Regions from separate parts of the Homo sapiens genome. Here region 2 is linked to region 1. The links are contacts of gene promoters, found by promoter capture Hi-C in human tissues and cell types (Jung and others, 2019). All regions are on one chromosome and are shown on one strand. Each heading gives the region's core, a stretch centred on a gene start or on the middle of the fragment in contact. The rest is flanking DNA. Distances are from core to core; before and after follow the strand shown. Region 1 holds the start of KLHL30 (kelch like family member 30). Region 2 overlaps ILKAP (ILK associated serine/threonine phosphatase).

Evidence for each region. The method cuts DNA at HindIII sites, captures the fragments that hold promoters and counts their contacts. A contact is called where the count stands out against the background at its distance.
Region 2: a fragment that was not itself captured here is called in contact with the fragment with the promoter of KLHL30 in region 1 in 1 of the 25 tissues and cell types used here (psoas muscle).

Annotation. Positions count from the first base shown.
Region 1 is chr2:238,136,804-238,140,361 of GRCh38, forward strand. It overlaps KLHL30 (kelch like family member 30), which reads left to right and starts at 1,865. Exons shown (of 8, transcript NM_198582.4): 1 at 1,865-1,955. The HindIII fragment of the contact is 32,785 bases long and covers 1-3,558 here.
Region 2 is chr2:238,191,277-238,194,834 of GRCh38, forward strand. It overlaps ILKAP (ILK associated serine/threonine phosphatase), which reads right to left. Exons shown (of 12, transcript NM_030768.3): 2 at 3,529-3,558; 3 at 2,999-3,055. Among named protein-coding and RNA genes, the nearest start is that of ILKAP, 11 kb to the right of the region's middle. The HindIII fragment of the contact is 3,908 bases long and covers 1-3,558 here.

The sequences.
Region 1 (3,558 bases), core at 615-3,114:
AAAAACTGCGCCACTCAGTAGCAATCTCTTGATGGAGGATCTGTTTTGCGCCCCCGGTGTTGAGTTTCCCAGACTGACCTGTCATCTGAGGTGCTGGGGCTCCGAGCCCCACGACGGCTGCTGTGAGGCCTCCACACTTGGCAAGCAGTGCTGTTCCCCGAGCAGAGCCAGCTCCCCGTGACAGCAGCCTGTCATCAGAATCCCCTGTCCTCATTTCCTCCAGCCCGAGCCAGGACTGCAAACAAGGGGGACAGTACGGAAACCCAACACTCTAGCGCCCACCCCATAGTGGTCCTGGACACAGCGAGAGTTGGGGTCCTCCATGAGGGTCCCCCACACAACATGAGGCTGATGCCCAAGGCTGGGGAAAAACCCTGGGACAGTGTGGGACACGAGCAGGGGAAAGAGCAGGAGCAGGGGCCAGGCTGGGCTGGGCTACGGCTGGGCTACGGCTGGACTATGGCTGAGCTGGGCTGGGCTATGGCTGGGCTATGGCTGGGCAATAGCTGAGCTGGACTGGGCTATGGCTGGGCTATGGTTGGGCAATAGCTGAGCTGGACTGGGCTATGGCTGGGCTATGGTTGGGCAATAGCTGAGCTGGGCTGGGCTATGGCTGGGCTATGGTTGGGCAATAGCTGAGCTGGGCTGAGCTATGGCTGGGCTATGGCTGGGCCAGGCTGGGCTGTAGAGGAAGCATGGACTCAGGGAATCTCTATGGAAGGTAACCCTAAGGGCACCTTGCAGACTTGGCAGTAATTTGTAGGTGAGCTTCCCCTCCATAGGCTGTGTGCATCTCAGGACCAGGAGTGGGGTTCTGTCTCCCTGGGGGCCGCCTGGACCTCTCTGGTCTGTAAGAGCATTAGGACAATCCCTAGTAGCATCAAGAGGCCACAGCCAGACCCAATACTCCCCAGTTCCTCCAGGTCGCAGCACACCTGGAAATGGTCATACTGCTCAGGCCCACATGGCCGATGGGTAGAGGGCTGAGGGCTGAGGGCTTCTCTCCCATGCACCTGAAGTCCCTCAGCCACAAAGCTCTGCTCTGGTCACTGGTGTGAGAAATGTCCAGTGGCCTCTTGGGTCCCCAACTCAACCCACCTGACCTTGGTCAGGGCCTGTGGTTCTGAGCCCATTTCAGTCCCAGGCGTGAGAGCTTCCCCCTGCGACTACCGTGAACCAAGTGCTGGACGGGAGGCTGATAGTCCACTGCTGTATTTTTAGGTGACCCTGTTTCTTAGCCGTCCTGGGCAGCCCCGAGGCCAAGGCCATGGGGTAGCAGGGCAAGGAGCCCCAAGATCTCCCCTATCCACGCTAGCTGGGCGGGGCAACTGAGTGTGGCACCTCCCCTCTCTGGGCAAAGTTTCCCTACCGCCACCATGGACCCCAAGCTCGGAAAGCCTCTGCTGACCAACCTGTGCTTATTCATGATAATCACGTTTTCCCACGTGACAACAGAACAAGAGGACACATAGGTGCCGCTGACATCAACAGCGAGGGCAGCACCTGTCGGTGTCCTGGCCCTGGGCTGAGGGTCTCTGTGACCCCAGGCCCCCACCACGGGCTCCACTGTACTCAACTTGTAGACGAGGAAACAGGTGGGGAAGCTGCATCCCTGCCCCCACCAGCCAGCCCAACCGCGACAGCTTTCACCTGTCCTTGCCCTGGAGCCCTTCCTGATGTCTGTCCTAGGCCACAAGTCCCTGGAAGGCCTCAGTGGGCTTTCTGAGCTAACAGTCACCAAGGAGCCGGCATCTCACTCCTTCCCCCACCAGCCCAGCCCTCACTGCCTGACCCTCCCCTCGCCCTGCAGACAGAGGCTAAAAATACCCTCCCCACGTGGCCACCAGACCAGCCCTGCCCCGCCCTGCAGGCCTCCGTGTCCCCTGGCTGCCGGCTAGGCAGTCCTGCTCTCTCGGGTCTGTGTTCTCAGCTTCGAGGTCCAGGCTGAGTGAGAGGTAGGATCCAGGGGGCTCTGGGGCAGGGGACAGCAGAGAGGGCAGGGGGAACCCAGCCAGGAGCAGCGGGGAGGGTGGGTTAGGCCCCCGAGGCCAGGGATCACAGCAGGGTGCTTTGGAGACGCCCCCTGGCCCTTGCCAGCGGCCAAGCCAGGCTCCTCAGGGTGGGGGCTCAGGAGACAGGTTTCCCTCCATGTCCCAGCCGGAGAGGTGGGAGGGGGAGGCTGGGCCACCCCTCAGATGGCAGCCAGGGCCACTCAGCCACAGTCGCCAGCCTGGCTGGGCTCAGGCCTTTTGTTGTCCTGCCCACTCGGCTTCCTCACTCCGGGCCTGGGCAGGCACTGGGGTGAGGCTCTGAGACCCTCAGGAAGCCCCGACCCATGCAGGGACTGCAGGGTGACAGGTGTCAGCAGGCACCCCGAGGCCCCCAGGGGAAGTGGGGGCGCTCATGCGTGCCTGCCCATCGCCCGGCAGCAGCTGGCCCAAGGGAGCACAACAATGACGGGAATGTGAGGCCTGCAGGCGGTGGCCCAGGGACAGCCCTGTCACCTACTCAGGCCCCAGCTCATCTCCCGGCTGCCCAGGGAGGGCAGAGCCGCCTTCACCGGGGCCAGCGCCTCCTGGGGAGGGGCCAGGCAGGAACCCCATGCATGCAGTGTTGGGTGGGTACTTCGTGTACCGGCCGGGATGCTGGGGTGTGGGGCCCCGGCCACGTGAGCTGCCCTGTGCGCGAGCCCGGGTTGGTCCGCGAGGCCCTGTGGGCTCCCAGGTGCTTCCCCGCTCTGGGGTCAAGAGGTGGCACCGGGGTCGGGAAGTCGGGGAGCCCTAGCTCCCATCGCCTGCACCTGTACCTGCACCGTGGCTGCCCGGGCCAGATTCTTGGCCTCCTGGTTCTCCAGCTGAGCTTTGTCATTTCCATGCGTGGCGTTCCCACGCATTTTGTACCTGTGGACGCGCGGCCGCCTCTCCTGCCCGGGATGGCCCCGCGAGGCGCCCCCTAGCGGGCGAACGGCCTCTCCGCTGCGCAGCCTTTCGCCCTGGGGTGACCCGGGTCGAAGGCTTGTGCACAGACTTGATCTCTCCTAGGGATGGTTGTCTTAGGGTGCGATACCAGAAGGACATAAACCACATGCACATAATTACATGAGCCTGAAAGCGGCCTTGCTGACTTCAACCATGCGGGCGTGGTGACGCGAAACCCTCCAGAACGCTGCCTTTGGCTGGCCGTTTCTGTTTAGCAGCCTCCACCCGGCCACGTGGAATGCAGGGTTCAGAGCCTGGGCCCCCAAGCCTAGCTCTGAGTTCAAATTCCAGCTCCACCACTTCCTAAATGTGTGATCTTGGGCAAGTGACTGAAACCTTCTGTGCCTCAGTCTCCCCAGCTGTAAAAGAGGCAATGATTGCACCCACCCTCCAGGACTGTTGTGGGGCTGAGTGGTGAATGCACAGCTTCTCTGCATGCTTGGCACGTGGCCTGGCACCTGGGAGCACCGCGGGAGCAGGAGCTGCTGCAGCCCCCAAATGGCCTCCCCAGCAATGTGGGATCTGGGACGGAGGACGCCTCCCGGGAGTTTGGGTGTCTCCGGGGTCCCTGGGGGGTGGG
Region 2 (3,558 bases), core at 386-2,885, 54 kb after region 1:
GTGCACCATCACACCCAGCTAATTTTTGTATTTTTGTATTTTTAGTAGAGACGGAGTTTCACCATGTTGGGTAGGTTGGTCTTGAACCGCCTGTGTCAGACATTTCTTAGTGCTGAGGAAAAAGTAATGAAAATGTTCCTGCCCTCAAGAAGCGTAAATTAGTTGCACAAGGCCCTATTTCTGCAACAGTATAACATAATACACATATGCACCCTGCATAAGGCAACACAGATGTTTCCAACAGTATCTCTCCCAAAGGTCCCCATTAGTGTCCTGTGGCTTACTGTATGGGTTCCAGTTTTCCCCATATGGATGTGAAACTTTCTTCCTTTAAAATTCCAAAACAGATGGCCAGGTGTGGTGGTTCACACCTGTCATCCCAGCACTTTGGGAGGCTGAGATGGGCAGATCATCTAAGGTCAGAAGGTCAAGACAAGCCTGACCAACATGGCGAAACCCGGTCTCTAATTAAAATACAAAAAATTAGCCGGGCATGGTAGCGCCTGTAATCCCAGCTACTCGGGAGGCTGAGGCACGAGACTCACTGGAACCCAGGAGGCGGAGGCTGCAGTGAGCTGAGATCTCGCCACTGCGCTCCAGCCTAGGCAACAGAGCAAGGCTCCATCTCAAAAAAAAAAAAAAGAAAAAGAAAAAGGCCAGGCGCAGCGGCTCATGCCTGTAATCCCAGCACTTTGGGAGGCAGAGGCAGGCGGATCATGAGGTCAAGAGATTGAGACCATCCTGGCCAACATGGTGAAACCCCGTCTCTACTGAAAATACAAAAAATTAGCTGGGTGTGGTGGCAGGTGCCTATAGTCCCAGCTACTCGGGAGGCTTAGACAGGAACTTGAACCCGGGAAGTAGAGGTTGCAGTGAGCTGAGATCGCAACACTGCACTCCAGCCTGCCAACAGAGTGAGACTGTCTTAAAAAAAAAAAAAGAAAAAGAAAAAGAAAAAAAGAAAAATAATAAAATTTCAAAATAAAGACACCTTACAGGTTTGTTATTGACTTCTAAGCAAATTACACTGTAGTCTGAGAATGTAGTCTGTACAAGAAACAGATCATTGAGGCTTATTTTATGGCTTAGTACATAATCAACTTTTGTAAATGGTTCCTGCCCGCTTAAGAATGTGTTATCGGGCCGGGCAAGGTCGCTCACACCTGTCATCCCAGCACTTTGGGAGGCCGAGGCAGGCGGATCACGAAGTCAGGAGATGGAAACCATCCTGGCTAACATGGTGAAACCCCATCTCTACTAAAAATACAAAAAAATTAGGTGGGCGTGGTGGCGGGAGCCTGTAGTCCCAGCTACTTGGGAGGCTGAGGCAGCAGAATGGCATGAACCTGGGAGGCAGAGCTTGCACTGAGCTGAGATCGCGCCACTGCACTCCAGCCTGGGCAACAGAGAGAGAGACAGTCTCAAAAAAGGAAAAAAAAAAAAAGAATGTGTTATCGGCTGGGTGCAGTGGCTCACGCCTGTAATCTCAGCACTTTGGGAGGCTGAGGCGGACAGATCACAAGGTCAGGAGTTCGAGACCAGCCTGGCCAATATGGGAAAACCCTGTCTCTACTAAAAATACAAAAATTAGCCAGGCATGGTGGCACACGCCTGTAGTCCCAACTACTCAGGAGGCTGAGGCAGGAGAATCGCTTAAACCCGGGAGGTGGAGGTAGCAGTGAGCCAAGATTGTGCCACTGCACTCCAGCCTGGGTGAGAGTGTGAGACTCCGTCTCAAGAAAAAAAAAATGTGTTAACTTCTCTAGAAATCTAAAACACTAGACCCAAGATTATATATCCAAAAAATTAAGCTTGTTAATAGTGTTATGTAAATCTTCTAAATTTTTTACTACTTTGCCTTTTGTCCTGTAGATAAATAAGAGACAGCTATGCTGTATCTTCATTTCTTCTATTAAATCCCTTAACAGCCTTCTTTGAACATATTAACTTTCCTTTTTTTTGGAGACAGAGTCTTTCTCTGTCACCCAGGCTGGAGTGCAATGGCGTGATCTCAGCTCACTGCAACCTCTGCCTCCTGGGTTCAAGCGACTCTCCTGCCTCTGCCTCCTGAGTAGCTGGGACGACAGGCACATGCCACCATGCCTGGCTAATTTTTGTATTTTTAGTAGAGACAGGGTTTCGCCATGTTGGCCAGGCTGGTCTTGAACTCCTGACCTCAAGTGATCTACCCGCCTTGGCTTCCCAAAGTGCTGGGATTATAGGCGTGAGCCACCACGCCCAGCCAGAACATATTAACTTTCATTACAACTAAGGGTACTATCTTTATTGGGAAGGTTTCAGGCCACACTGTGAGTGTGAGGATGCTGCAATTTTTTGGTATGGGTCTACAGCCCTGAAGATTGAGAATTCTTATATAAGATGACTGGAGTACTTTTCCTAAAATATAGAAAATATACCTGCATACGAAATGGGATTACCTGCATTCCCCACTGCCCCCACACCATCTATCTCCCAACCTCTCCTAACCCTCACCTTCCCCAACCAGAGGAGCTCTACCTAAGAAGTTCTCATGAGACAGAATCATACCTTTGCCGCAATGGCAACAGGAATCTGCTCTATTCTTCCCTTCTACTTAATTAGGACATGAAAAGGAACATTTTCAGGAGGAGGTAGAGCCAATGCTACTAGCCTCGATACATTTGAGTCAAGCACTCTGTTTAACAAGGCAAATCGGAATAATGAACTCTGAATTTTTAAAAAATGTTAATAACAAAGTTAAGAGTAAATTAGTGAACTCTTAATTCTTAAAGGCAGTTCCAACAATCTGAACCTCAAGAAGTTAATATCACCAGAAAGTGATACAGTATTATCTTTGTGCTTCCAATTAATGTGCCTGTTTATAGTTTTAGTAAACCTTATGCTGTATTATGACTTAATGTCATCCAAAATCCCGTTAAAACCTATACATAAATTTCACATAAGAGTAAAATACTATGTATTATTTCCATCAGCACCTTGGATTTTTCCTACCACTTACCTGAATCGCCACTGCTAGCGGGTGGGAGATCATCAAAAAGCAAAGGTCCCCCTGATCCTGAAACACAGCAGAACACTTAGTGAGCCCACAAAAAATATGTAAGACTTAAGTTTCAGAATCCATCCCACCAGGACACCTATGTAGGTTACTGAAATAAACTCAAAACTTTGCGTCAATCCAGTGGCAACTCATACTGCAATGAATAATATCTTGAACCTATTTTAAAGTCCTATTATTTCAAAGGAAATAAAAATCTGCCTTAAAAAGTTAAATTGTACTTCAGGTAGTAAAATAAATACTCAAATGAACCAGAGAAAACTGCTCCACATTTCCTCGCAGTACTTCTCAGGGCTAGCGACTAGCAGATTTTTCTGCCTTACCTGATGCCATGGATTCAAAACTTAAAGACAGTCCAACACCTAAAACATCTGTGTGTTGAAAATGGGGGAAAGGGAAAAAGATTGAGACAACTACAATCCCAGGATGAGTAGAGACGTTGACACACACCTGGGAGAGCCTGAAGACTGTACCTGAGTCAGTACTGCTGGCCGGAGGGAGGT